Linked DNA regions of Homo sapiens: region 1 is linked to region 2. Evidence: promoter capture Hi-C in 16 types of primary human blood cells and fetal thymus (Javierre and others, 2016). All regions are on one chromosome and are shown on one strand. The core of a region is centred on a gene start or on the middle of the fragment in contact, and the rest is flanking DNA. Distances in the headings are between cores, read along the strand shown. Region 1 holds the start of FUS (FUS RNA binding protein). Region 2 holds the start of XPO6 (exportin 6).

Region 1 (6,677 bases), core at 1,597-4,096, 3.0 Mb before region 2:
GTAATCCCAGCACTTTGGCAGGTCAAGGCAGGCAGGAGGTCAGGAGTTCCAGACCAGCCTGTCCAACACGGTGAAACCCCATCTCTACTAAAAACACAAAATTAGCCAGGCGTGGTAGCAGGTACCTGTAATCCCAGCTACTCAGGAGGCTGAGGCAGGAGAATCGTTTGAACCCGGTAGGCTGATGTTGCAGTGAGCTGAGACAGCACCACTGCACTCCAGCCTGGGCAACAGGACCAGACTCCGTCTCCAAAAAACAAGAAAAAGAAAAGCAATATTCAGAAAGAGTAGGAAGAGGTGACCCGCTGAGAAAGACTCACTGTTCTGGCTCTGGCCATAAGAAGAATAGCTGCTCTGGCCATAGCCTGAAGTGTCCGTGGACTGGCTATAACCACTGTAACTCTGCTGTCCGTAGGGCTGACTGCTCTGCTGGGAATAGCCCTGCCCGGGCTGGGTGGGGTAGGCCCCATAGCTAAATAAAAGGAAAACCAGCGTGATCAGAAAACATGGCGTGACCACCCTTGCCCTCTACAAACTCTGGAAGCCCAAAAATAGCACTCACCTTTGGGTTGCTTGTTGGGTATAATCTGCAAAAGAAAAATACAATCACATTATCTTCAGCTGCCACTCTGAAAGAGTTGAATTAAAGCTAAATTCCTTAACTCAAGCACTGATGAATAAAAAGGACCACGTAGGCCAGGCACGGTGGATCATGCCTGTAATCCCAGCAGTTTGGGAGGCCGAGGTGGGTGGATCACTTGAGGTCAGGAATTCGAGACTGGCCTGACCAACATGGTGAAGCCCCATCTCTAATAAAAATACAAAAAATTAGCCGGGCATGGTGGCGCACGCCTGTAATCCCAGCTACTCGGGAGGTGAAGCAGGAGAATCGCTTGAACCCGGGAGGCAGAGGTTGCAGTGAGCCATTGCACTCCAGCCTGGCAACAGAGCAAGACTCCATCTCAAAAAAAAAAATAAAAATAGGACCATGTTGCAACAAAGGGCATAAAATTCCTCCATGAGACACTGGTTGAGAAGAGGAACAAACTGGCGTTATCAGCCAAGTGTTCTTACAATAAAGAAAAAGTGAAGAAAATGCAAGTTTCTACAGAGTCCCAGAAGCCTTAACCATTGGAAAAACCAAGGTCTTGGTGGACATCCACAATTTTCTGCAAGCCCAATTCATGTCAGTGATTGCTCTAAAACATCGCGCATTCGTTTCATCCACTCTATGAGAAAGCCATTATCGCCAGGAGTCAAGAGACTAACTCTCCCAACGTCGCAGAACTACCAAAGTGGCACAGGTTTGAATTCGAACAGTGTTCAGATTGTGGCCTCTGCTCTCTCAGCCCAGACCCACAGAATAAGAAAGTCTCAAAAAAGGCCATTCTTCACTCTTTGACCAATCCCGGAGATGAAGTGGGCTTTTTAGTGCAAAGCCAGAGAATCAAAAGAGCCCTTGGACCCCAAATGACAGAGATCATGCAACTGCTCGCCTTAGGAGGCGAAAGTCAACAGGTACTCGAGTCCCCAGCCCTGGGACTCCAGATGGTTCCGTTTTCTCACCTACCCTGCCTTCCCCCAGCGAACAAAAAGCAACAAAAGCGCTTTTGAAAAGCCCCACTTAAGATACACGAACAAGATCAACTCATCCTCCCAGCACAGGAAACGCGGCGCTTCCCCCGCAGGAAAAGGGAAAGAGGACCAGGAGAGGGTGTGGCCTCGGGCGGCCGTTCTTCTCCGTCCCTATCTCAGAAAAAAGAAATTTAGACCAGGCGTGGTTGGCTTACGTCTGTAATCCCGACACTTCGGGAGGCCCAGGCGGGCGGATCACCTGAGGTCAGCAGTTCGAGACCAGCCTGACCAACATGGTGAAACCCCGCCCCTACTAAGAAACACAAAAATTAGCCGGGCTGTGGTGGCGGGCGCCTATAATCCCAACTACTCAGGAGGCTGAGGCAGAAGAATCACTTGAACCCAGGAGGTGGACGTTGCAGTGATCTGAGATCGCACCACTGCACTCCAGCCTGGGCGACAGAGGAAGACCGTGTCTCCAAAAAAAAAAAGAAAGAAATTTAGGCGGGAAAAACTCTCGGGCCGTCCCCAAGTCCGTTGGTCGAACCCTGACCACCGCCGCCAAACCGTTAAGCTAGAGGGCGGCCCCGATCCCGAGCCTCCGCCCCCAGCCGCGTGGCAACCCAGGCGGGAACGGAGCGATCCCGCCCATTCGCGAAGGACCACTGAGGGACAAGGCTCACACCGGACGCGCGCCGCCGAGTCTTCCGCGAAGGGTCTCGCGACAGAAAGCTGAACCAACACGAGGCGGGGAAGGGGTACCCGCGCCGCGAAGGGGGAGGGGCCCGCAGAGCGCGTGCGCGCCGCGAGTGCCCGGATGCAGCACTGCGACAAAGCGGGCTCGAGCGCGGGGCCGGGAGTTGGGGGAGGCGAGGCCACGGAGAATGGGCGTTTTCCACCCTCACCTGACGCTTCAAACCCCTAAGAAGCGTCCCTCCCAACGCCCACCCCAAGCAAACGGACTGCAAAGAAAAGACTTCCCGCCCCGCGCGCGAGGGCCAGAGGAGCGAAACAAAATGGCGACACCAGCCTCCTCCAGTTACTCTTCTCCGCGGCTTCCCGCCACAGGGGCGCCAAAAAATCCCACACGGGATCGCCGCCCCGGTCCCACTGAAAACGAAAAGCCCAGCTGGGAGGCCTCGGCCGGGTGCGCCGCCGCCGTCGCCTCGCGCCCTTACCTACCGTTTGAGGCCATGTCCGCGCACGCGCGCACAGGCAAGCAAGCAACGAAGTTCCAACACCGCTGAGTACCGACGCCTGGAGGACTGAGCAGCCCCGCCTCCTGCGTCGAAGCTTAAGTACGCTCCGCCGCCTACGCACCGCGCAGGCGCGCACCAAACGCGGAAGAGCAGGGGGAGGCAGGAACGCACTCCGCCCCCTTCGTAGGGCAGGTAGAGGGTCCGAGCAGGCAGAAGGGAAACAAGTTAACTAGAATCATGCGAATACTATACATAATCATATTTTTTGAGGAAGAACCCCTCTCTCCTCGGCAGGACTAGCCCACGATCTATCTCCACCCCCATGAAGGCACAGTGGTACGGCCTGAGTGCCCGCTGGGGGCGGGGCGAGGGGGCGGTCCCGGCGGCTGGGGACGAAACTGGAGTCACAGCCGGGAGTAGCGGGGTGGAACCGAGATTCCTGTGGCCGGGCCCCTTCGCTGGGCCCCGCTTTCACCCAGGATGGCGAGCTCCTGCCCTCCACCCTCTTGCCGCTGTATGGGGCGCCTCGTCCCCGCGGCTCCAGCCTCCCTCGTCGGCAGCACACTGGCCCTCCCTCTCCTGCGCCCTGAGGTTGACTTCGTCGTCTTTCAGGGTTGCCTTGCCTTTCGGCCTTTCTGGGGTTCGGGGATTATGACGTTTGACCTGAAAGACAGCAGGGATTTCGGCCGGGACCCCTGGGCCCCGGGCTCGTCCAGCACTGGGCTCTCACCCGGATCCTCATGGCTTTGCCCCTGGGGAGCCACGGGGCGGAACAGCCCAGGCCATCCTTGGGACCAGAGAGGGTTGACCTCAGATGTACGGTACCCAGCCTTTTCTCAGGGACCTCCTTTTTATTTTTCTGAAGCCCTACCAGGGCGATCCCAGAAATAAAACGTGTACAAGGCTTAAGTGGTTTCAAAATGCACAGATAATTTCCTTGTCATCAGTCTTACGAAGGAAGTAAAGATACCTCCGTTTTCTAGATAAGGAAAGTGAGACTCAGAGACCCAAGTAATTGTGCCTGATTACAGGGCAGCTAAGAGGAGTCGTGATTCGAATCCAGGTCTTGTAACTGCAAAACACTCCTCTTTTTGGTGGCATGAATGCTAGAGTGTTTGGTCGCCTTTTCACTTCCTGTGAGAGCAAAAGCAAAAAGAAACATTCAAATTAACTTGCAACTTGCACTTTCATCAGCCTTGCCTGGAGAAGGCAATTTGAAACTACTGAATAAAACAAGACAAAAGACGTTAATTCCTGATACATAGGCATGCAGGTTTTCCTTCCCAACTTAACCTTTCAGCGGGATTTCAGAAGGTCCTTTGAGGGTTGGACACGTCTTTCTAGAGAAACAATGAGGGCCATGCCCTGGGCCCGCCCACAAATTAAGCCCCACTAAGCCCTTGACTTCAGCCCTAAAGGCCCTGAATATGCCAATATCCACCCCACCGCCTTTGGAAGGAGAGTTCAACTCTCCAGTGAGAGCAAAAGAAAGGAAGTCCACCCTTATTCATGCATTAAGTCACAAATATTTATTTAGCACCTAGTATGTTCCAGGCACTGTTCTGGGCACTGGGTATGCATTCGTGTACAAAGCAGATGAAGTTAACATTTAATAATAAAGCTGACCGGGTGCGGTGGCTCACGCCTGTAATACCAGCACTTTGGGAGGCCGAGGCGTGTGGATCACGAGGTCAGGAGTTCGAGACCAGCCTGGCCAACATGGTGAAACCCCGTCTCTACTAAAAATACAAAAATTAGCCAGGCGTCGTCCGCGCATCTGTAATCCCAGCTACTCAGGAAGCTGAGATGGGAGAATCGCTTGAACCCAGGAGGCGGAAGTTGCAGTGAGCCAAGACGTGCCACTGCACTCCAGCCTGGGCAACAGAGCAAGACTGTCTCAAAACAAATAATAATAATAAAGCTGACATTTAATAATGATATACATTGTGCTCATCTATAATATGTAATAGCTAACACTTTAACAAGACTTACTGTCAGGCCCTGTTCTGACTGAGTAAACTCTTGATTTTATTTTTCACAACAAAAGGCTGATGTGAGGATGACATTTTATCTTTTTTTTTTTTGGGGGGACACTGTCTCACTCTGTCACCCAGGCTGGAGTGCAGGGGCGCCGTCTCGGCTCACTGCAACATGTGCCTCCCGCGTTCAAGTGATTCTACAACTTCAACCTCCCAAGTAGCTGGGAGTACAGGTGTGCGCCACCACACCCAGCTAATGTTTGTATTCTTAGTAGAGACGGGGTTTCACCATGTTGGCCAGGCTGGTCTCGAACTCCTGGCCTCAGATGATCCATCTGCCTTGGCCTCCCAAATTGCTGGAATTACAGGTGTGAGCCACCACGCCCTGCTAAGGATGACATTTTACAGATGAGGAAATAAGCATAGAAAGACAGGCAGTTGACCGGGCACGGTGGCTCACGCCTGTAATCCCAGCACTTTGGGAGGCCAAGGAGGGCAGATCACAACGTCAGGAGTTCGAGACCAGCCTGACCAACATGGTGAAACCCCGTCTCTACTAAAAATACAAACATTAGCCAGGCATAGTGGCGCGCACCTGTAGTCCCAGCTACTCAGGAGGCTGAGGCAGGAGAATTGCTTGAACCCCGGAGGCAGAGGTTGCAGTGAGCCGAGATCGCGCCACTGCACTGCAGCCTGGATGATAGAGTAGAGCAAGACTCTGTCTCTAAAAAAAAAGAAAGACGGAAAGTTATGCTGAAGCTACACAGGAAGTGGCAAAGCTGGGTTCCCAAGCCAGGTAGCCTGCTCTTAACCCCTGCGCTTCAGCAAACATTGCCTGAGCACTGCATAGTATGTTCCAATCATGGGGCCGACTGGATGGATATGGATAAAAAAAAGCTCAGTTCCTAAACCACAGGACCAGCCAGTGGGTGAATGTGGGTGAGACACACAGACCACAAAGTGTACTTGAGTGTAGTAAGTGCCATCACATGGAATCAAAGACTGGAAACCCTGCCAGCAGAGTAAGTCATCCATCAGGTGGACAACCACAGAACACTAAAGAGAGATGGTAACCCTGAAGCCAAGGCTTACTGGATAAGTAGAAGTTTGCCAAGCAGCAAGGGAGGAAAGGCTATAATAGGCAGAACCGCGAAGACAAAGGCACAAGTGGGGAAGACACTGAGGCAGAGTTCAGGCTCCAGCTGTGACTCTGGGCTGGGCATGGTGGCAGATGAGACTCGGCCTCAAAAAAAAAAAAATATGTGACTCTGAAAGACTAAATCAAATGGCCATTTCTTTCTTTCTTTTTTTTTTTTTTTTGAGATGGAGTCTCACTCTGTCACCCAGGCTGGAGTGCAGTGACGTGATCTCAGCTCACTGCAACCTCTGCCTCCCGGGTTCAAGCAATTCTTGTGCTGCAGCCTCCCGAGTAGCTGAGATTACAGGCATGCATCACCATGTCCAGCTAATTTTCCTATTTTTAGTAGAGACGGGGTTTCACCATATTGCCCAGGCTGTTCTCGAACTCCTGATCTCAAGTGATCCACCTGCCTCGAATGTTTTAATTTTTTTAACTAGTTGCCAACACTAAAAATAGTGGGCCATTCCAGGCCCACTTCCATAGGGCAAGGGTCAGCTGGAGTGAGACACTGTCACCTTTAGCTGCCATATGTGCTTTAAGTTCACCATAAATGTCTTATTTACTTCCTATCTCTGACAGGAAAGTCAATGTTAAATTTTTCTTTTTTGAGACAGGGTCTTGCTATGTTGCCCAGGCTGGTCTTGAACTCCTAGGCTCAAGGGAATCCTCCCAAAGTGCTGTGATTAAAGGTGTGACCACCACACCCAGTTTCAATTAACATGTATATCAGATATTGGGCCAGATGCGTTCGCTCACACCTGTAATCCCAGCACTTTGGGAGGC
Region 2 (6,980 bases), core at 3,982-6,481:
GTTAAGAGTCCAAACTTTAGGGTCCCCACCTTGTTACTTGCAATGAAACGGACACAGTGGAAGACAGCTTGGAGTAGGAAAAGGACTGAAGACTGCAGCAGCCAGGTGAACTTCTATTCGTCCATCAAGACCCAACCCAAAGGTTACCATCTTTGTTGCTTCCTCCCCATTTCCTCGTACGCTTAGGAAGTTCATACACACCTCACAATGTGCTGTAATTATTTGGGTGGCTGTTGCTGACCCAGACAGTGGACAATTTGCCTGATTCTTATTCACTTTAAATACTTCATTTTTAGCAAAAGGCCTGGCACAAAGCTAATACTAACTCACTGAAAGTTTGTTGAATGAATAACTAAATGCAGGCGATCAAGGCAGTAGCAATAGAAATAGGCAGGCAGAGATGGCTGGGGGCCATCCCTGCAGTGCCAACTAAAAGTAATAGCAGCCTTAAATCTTTTTTTGGAATAAGACAGGCTTCAGATTAATATTAATAACAAAATGTTATTTAGTTTACTTGAACAAAATCCCTGGAGTCAAATTTATAATAGCTGTGACTTATCTCATGCCTCATGTGCCAGGTGTTTTATGTACATTAAATTAAATCTTCACCCCAGCCTGGCAATGGAGCTATGATGTGGTGACTCCACACATCCAGTTTATTCTGAGGAATTGAAAGCAACTCCAGGGGATTCTATAAGCCACTCATAGCAGTTCCACCCTCCTTCACTACGGCTAGATCCGGGGGACTAGGCCTAGGCCAATTAGGATCAGTAGGGAAAGCTTCTTGGCTTGAGAAAGGATGTGAGAAAGGTGCTCTCTCTTTTTTCTTTATTTTGAGATGGAGTCTCACTCTGTCACCCAGGCTGGAGTGCAGTGGTGCAATCTCGGCTCACTGCAACCTCTGCCTCCTGGGTTCAAGCAATTCTCCTGCCTCAGCCTCCTGAGTAGCTGGGACTACAGGCGCCTGCCACCATGCCCAGCTAATTTTTTTTTTTTTTTTTTTTGAGATGGAGTTTTGCTCTGGTTGCCCAGGCTGGAGTGCAATGGTGCAATCTCGGCTCACCACAACATCCGCCTCCCGGGTTCAAGCGATTCTCCTGCCTCAGCTTCCCAAGTAGCTAGGATTACAGGTATGCGCCACCACACCTGGCTAATTTTTTGTATTTTTAGTAGAGACGGGGTTTCTCCATATTGGCTAGGCTGGTCTCAAACTCTCGACCTTAGGTGATCCACCCACCTCGGCCTCCCAAAGTGCTGGGATTACAGGCATGAGCCACCATGCCCAGCCTCATTTTTGTATTTTTAAGTAGAGATGGGGTTTCACCAGTTGGCCAGGCTGGTCTCAAACTGCTGACCTCAAGCGATCCATCCACCTTGGCCTCCCAAAGTGTTGGGGATTACAGGTGTGAGCCACTGTGCCCGGCCAAAAGGTGCTCTCTTTTGCTGGATTTGAACAGGGAATTTTGTGGCCCTGGCTGTTCCTGGCAACCACCTTGACAACAAGTCTGATAATGGAGAAGAGCAGAGCAAGGAAGTCCTAGAGGAATGGCCGGGCGTGGTGGCTCATGCCTGTAATCCCAGCACTTTGGGAGGCCGGGGTGGGCAGATCACTTGAGCTCAGAAGTTGGAGACTAGCCTGGGCAACACAGTGAGACATTGTCTTTGCTGAAAAAAAAAAAATCAGCTGGGCATAGTGGCGCACACCTGTAGTCCCAGCTAACTGGGAGTTTAAGGTGAGAGGCTTGCTTGAGCTTGGGAGGTCGAGACTGCAGTGAGCTGTGATTGCGCCACTGCACTCTAGCATGGAGAACAGACTGAGACCCTGTCTCAAAAAAATAAAACAAAACAAAACAAACAAACAAACAAACAAACACACACAAAACCACACACAGAAAAAAAAGAAAATCCTAGAGGAATGGATCTAGGCCTCCCATCACACCCAGCCAAAAGCTAATGAATCTCTGGAAGTCCAGTTATGTAACCCAAAGGCATACCCTTAAGTGAGTCAGTTGCATTTCTGTTATCTCATTCAATTTTACAGTAAGGAAACCAAGACTTCGAGAGTCAATAACTCAAGATACCTTAGCTAGTGAAGTTAAGAGCTGGATTCCACTCCAAATGAGTCTCAACCCAAAGCTTTCACTCATCCTACTAAACTAAGCCAAGTAAGTGACTTGGCCTCCATTCCGATTCATCAGCTTACCTACTGAGATGGCTTCTCTTGTACATGCTGTTTCTACTGCCTGGAATGTTCTATGCCCCCTCTCTTTGCCTAGCAAACTCCTGCTTCTTTAAGGCCAAAGCTTAAAGAAATGTCACTTCCTGACTTCCTCCCCATCCTAATCTGCCAGATTATTTTAGATCCCTTGGCCTTATTAGCGTGTAAACTATATTAAAGTTATATCATGTTAGTTTCAATTTTTCCTTCATTGCTCTTATCACAATAACTGATCCATTATTGTACAATATTTTACAAATAATTTGTCTTTAAATTCCATAAGGGCACACATATATTTGTTTTGCTCAGCATTGAATCCTTGAAATAGTGACTGTCACTTAGTGGACAACAATAAAGATTTGATAAAATAAATGTGCTTGAGGCTGGGCATGGTGGCTCATGCCTGTAATCCCAGAACTTTGGGAGGTCGAGGTGGGCGCATCACTTGAGGTCAGGAGGTGAGACCATCCTGGCCAACATGGCGAAACCCCGTCTCTACTAAAAATACAAAAATAAATTTAGCTGGGTGTGGTGGCAGGTGCCTGTAATCCCAGCTACTTGGGAGGCTGAGGCAGGAGAATTGCTTGAACCTGGGAGGCAGAGGTTGCAGTGAGCCGAGATTGCACCATTGTACTCCAGCCTGGGCAACAAGAGCGAAACTCCCTCTCAAGAGAAAAAAAAATAGTGCTTGATGGCCTGGCGCGGTGGCTCATGCCTGTAATCTCAGCACTTTGGGAGGACGAGGCGGGTGGATCACCTGAGGTCGGGAGTTTGAGACCAGCCTGACCAACATGGTGAAACCCCGTCTCTACTGAAAATACAAAAAATTAGTTGGGTGCGGTGGTGGGCTCCTGTAATCCCAGCTACTTGGGAGGCTGAGGCAGGAGAATTGCTTGAACCCAGGAGGCGGACGTTGCGGTGAGCCGAGATCATGCCATTGCACTCCAGCCTGGGCAACAAGACCGAAACTCTGTCTCATTAAAAAAAAAAAAAAAGTGCTTGAGGCTGGGAGTTTGAGGCTGCAGTGAGCCATGATCATGTCACTGCAACAGAGTGAGACCCTTTCTCCAAAAACAAACAAACAAACAAACAAACAAAAAACTAAAAAACCCCTGAAAGCTATTGCTTTCAGTGGTAAAGTGTTGTATCAGTGGTTCTCCAAATGTGGTATCTAGACCTGCAGCATCAGCTTCATTTGGGAGCTTGTTAGAAATGCAAATTATTCAGCCCCATCTCAAACCTACTGGATGGGAAAGTCTATGAGTGGAGCGAGTAATCTTTGTTTTAACAGTCCTTCTGGGTGAATTGATTCAGATCACACTGAGGTTTGACAGGAAAGAAAAATAGCTCAGGGAAGTCTGAGTTATGTGAAGTATGCAAAATTTGTCAGGTCCACTGAGACTTGTGTATGGGAGTTCGGGCACACTCCCACCTCCACATGCTCGGGGACAATTGTTTAAAGATATTTTGTTCCAGACTAGCTGCCTCCCCCATTTCCTTCAGGTTCCTGAAATTTGTGATACAAAGAACAATGTATAGGCAATAGCTTATGTTATTTTTTCCCCCTTTCTCATCATTCCTATTCAACCTTATGTTATGCCTCTTTTTTCCTTAGAAACCCACTTGAAGCCAGGCGGGAGGGCTCACGCCTGTAATCCCAGCACTTTGGGAGGCCGAGGCTGGCGGATCACCTGAGGTCGGGAGTTCAAGACCAGCCTGGCCACTATGGTGAAACTCCGTTTCTACTAAAAATAAAAAAAATAGCCGGGCATCATGGTGGGTGCCTGTAGTCCCAGCTACTCGAGAGGCTGAGGCAGGATAATCGTTTGAACCCGGGAGGCGGAAGTTGCAGTGAGCTGAGATTGCACCATTGCACTCCAGCCTGGGCGACAAAGCGAGACTCCGTCTCAAACAACAACAACAACAAACTACACTCTAGTCTGGGCGACAGAGCAAGACCCTGTCTTAAAAACAAACAAACAAACAAGGAAACCCCATTTGTAACTGCCACTAATTGGACTATACTTCTGGTGGGCCATCTTCAAGCTTCGGGCTTGAATAAACCCTATACTTAAATACTATTTTCTCAATCTCGTTATTTAAGGTTGACAAGGGCCATTGGGTTACATAGATTTGCTCCAATCTATGTAGTAGGCACACCCGCGGGCTCAACCTCAGCTGTTTGGGATAGTTTCCTGACTGTTTCTTAAAATTAGCACTTTCAGCCTGGCTGGATGACTCATACCTGTAATCCCAGCACTTTGGAAGGCTGAGGCAGGAAAGCTGCTTGAGCCCAGGAGTTCCAGACCAGCCCAAGCATCAAAAGGAGGCCTCACCTCTGCAAAAAATAAAAAAATTTAGCTGGGCATGGTGGCGCACCAGGAGGTTGAGGCTGCAGTGAGCCATGATTGTGTTACCGCACTCCAGCCTGGGCAACAGAGCAAGAACCTGTCCCCAAAAATAAAACAAAATAAAGATGAGCACTTTCACGAGTAAAGTGGATTGGAGGATGGGAACAGGAATCCAACACATTCTCTGCCTCTCTCAGCACCTTGGCTATCGAAGTTACGTTTATCTCCCCTGTCCTAGCATCCACAGCAGGGCCTGGAATATAGTCGGGCAAGAGTGTGTGGACTGCATGAATGTAAGCTCCATAGGGCCGCGTGTCGTCACGCTGCCAGCTCGATGCTCCGCCCGTAAAAGGCACTCACTAAAATTTTAGCGGAATGAATGGGCGAAAAAAGCGAAAGGGAAACCACGCCTTTACTAAAATGGCAGCCCGGGCTCCCTTTACCAAGATGGCTGCCGGCCCGCGTGGACGCACGGGCGGTGGGCGCAGGGGGCGGGGCAAGAGAGGGCGTGGTAAGAAGGCGGGGCCAGTGGGAGCCGTCAGGTGCAGCCCCGCCCTCCGCCCTCCGCCCGCTCCCCCCGCTCGCCCCGCTCGATTCCGGATTGGTCCGGTTCCAGCGCCGCAGCCCGGCGGCCGCGCTGTGGGGCCGCCCGGCGCTCGCCACTTCCGGCGCGTTGGGGCTGTTGGTCGGGGGCGGCCGCGCGGTACTAGCGGGCGGCTCCAGGGCGGGCGCGCGCAAGGATGCTCTAGGGGGCGGCGGCAGTGGCCGTGTGGGTTGAGGCTGCGAGGACAGCGCGGGCCCCCGGGCCTCTCCCCTGAGCCGGCCGCCTGGGCCGCGCGGTCGAGGCCTGTCAGCCTCCGCCCGTTCAGCCTCGGGGCCGGGGCCGCCGCCACCTCTGCCCGCGGAGGCCGGGGAGCCCCTGCCTGGGCCCGCAGCCTCCCCCGCGGGGGTCGGGCCCGGGCGGGGGTCCCGAGCAGCTGCCCTCCTCGCCGGCATCCGAGCCTCATTTCCTGCTTTTTCAGTTTCCTTGGGGAGGGGCGGGTGGGTCTGGATGAATTGTCTCGGGGTCCCCCGATGAGGCGACCCGGGCGGCCCTGCCCTTTTTAGAGGGTCCCCTCGGGGCCCGGTGGGGAAGGGGTTGTCTTTGCATGGGTGGGGGACTTCCCGAGTCTGCCGGGACCATGACCTGAACTGTGCGAGCGGGACGTGTCCGAAGCCCAAGAACCAGCTCATCTGAGCCGCCCCCTCCCCGGCCAGCATGGTAAGTGGAATTGGAGCCCCCTTCCCTCCTGGGGTGCCCTACCGGAAGGGTGGGAATGGGCCCCGGGGCTGCTGAGCCATCGCTGCTCTCCCCATGGCGGGGAGAGGCGCGTGCGGAGCCTGGCCGGTGACACATGCGTGCAGAGTGTGCAGCCCCGGCCCTGCGCTCCCATCCCCCCAGGGATGATGGCTCAGGCCTGGGAGGGCCCTGGGAGCGCAGCAGGCACAACCCTTGCATCTGGTGTTTGCCTCCTGCAGCTCCTCCGGATAATAACTATCGTTTATTGAGGGCTTACTACTTGCCAAGGCCCTGCGCGAAGTGATTGACAGTGCAGTAGTATTTAATGATCACACCAGCCCTCTGTTCGGAAGTGGGGAGACTGAGGCACGGAGCAATTAATTCCCCAGCTCAAGGTCAAGCGACTTTTTAACAGTGTTAAGATTTGAACCTAGGCATCTGACTTTGAACCTAGGCATCTCTAATACACTTAGAGAGCTGGGTGATTGTAGGAGAAACATCTCATCTAGCTGTAGGTTTATATATGAGGAAACAGAGCGATTTACAGAGGTCACTTGCACAGGTGATGGCAAAGTCAGGAATGGTCGTGATCTTTTGACACTGAGGCTGCTATTCTACATGCTCTGATCTCTGCTGAAGCTACCTTCCACGTTTTCTAGACCGATACTTTCAATACTCCCCTAAATGTGTGTACTCACATCTCTTTGTGTATCCACATCTCCACGTTTTCTAGACCGATACTTTCAATACTCCCCTAAATGTGTGTACCCACATCTCTTTGTTAAGCATTTGCCTTTTTGCTCTTGTAATTATTTCTGAGCCTTATCTGTCTATTGCGGTATACACAGCTCCTTCAAAGACCAAATTGTTTGAACCCTTATCTGCTCCAGCTCCTGGCACATAGTAAGCCCTTGGTAAGTACTGGATCACCTAGCCTGTGGTTGAGCACCTCGAGGAGTGGAGCTGTTCTCCTCAGTTTCACCCATTTTACCCCTGCCAAGTTAGTGGTATAATAGAGAAAGGGACATAGCTGCATCTTTTGTGATACAGACCTTAAGGCCTGTGGAATTTTCGAAACATTCAAGGGGCCTGTGGGTAGTGTGTAGGTCCTGAGATATGGAGCTTACAACCA

What was found. Contacts are between HindIII fragments. The CHiCAGO score rates a contact against its expected background, and 5 or more counts as called.
Region 1: the fragment with the promoter of FUS here is called in contact with the fragment with the promoter of XPO6 in region 2 in 1 of 17 cell types (fetal thymus); the score reaches 9.3 in fetal thymus.

What each region holds. Positions count from the first base shown.
Region 1 is chr16:31,176,308-31,182,984 of GRCh38, reverse strand. It overlaps FUS (FUS RNA binding protein), which reads right to left and starts at 2,846. Exons shown (of 15, transcript NM_004960.4): 1 at 2,758-2,846; 2 at 563-587; 3 at 321-472. The coding sequence starts at 2,770. RefSeq lists enhancers at 1,571-1,620, 1,721-1,780, 1,811-1,900, 1,326-2,086, 2,087-2,848 and 5 more and silencers at 2,131-2,180, 2,301-2,450, 3,091-3,160. The HindIII fragment of the contact is 6,651 bases long and covers 1-2,870 here.
Region 2 is chr16:28,210,216-28,217,195 of GRCh38, reverse strand. It overlaps XPO6 (exportin 6), which reads left to right and starts at 5,231. Exons shown (of 24, transcript NM_015171.4): 1 at 5,231-5,830. The coding sequence starts at 5,828. RefSeq lists a silencer at 4,994-5,483 and an enhancer at 5,113-6,111. The HindIII fragment of the contact is 3,886 bases long and covers 4,267-6,980 here.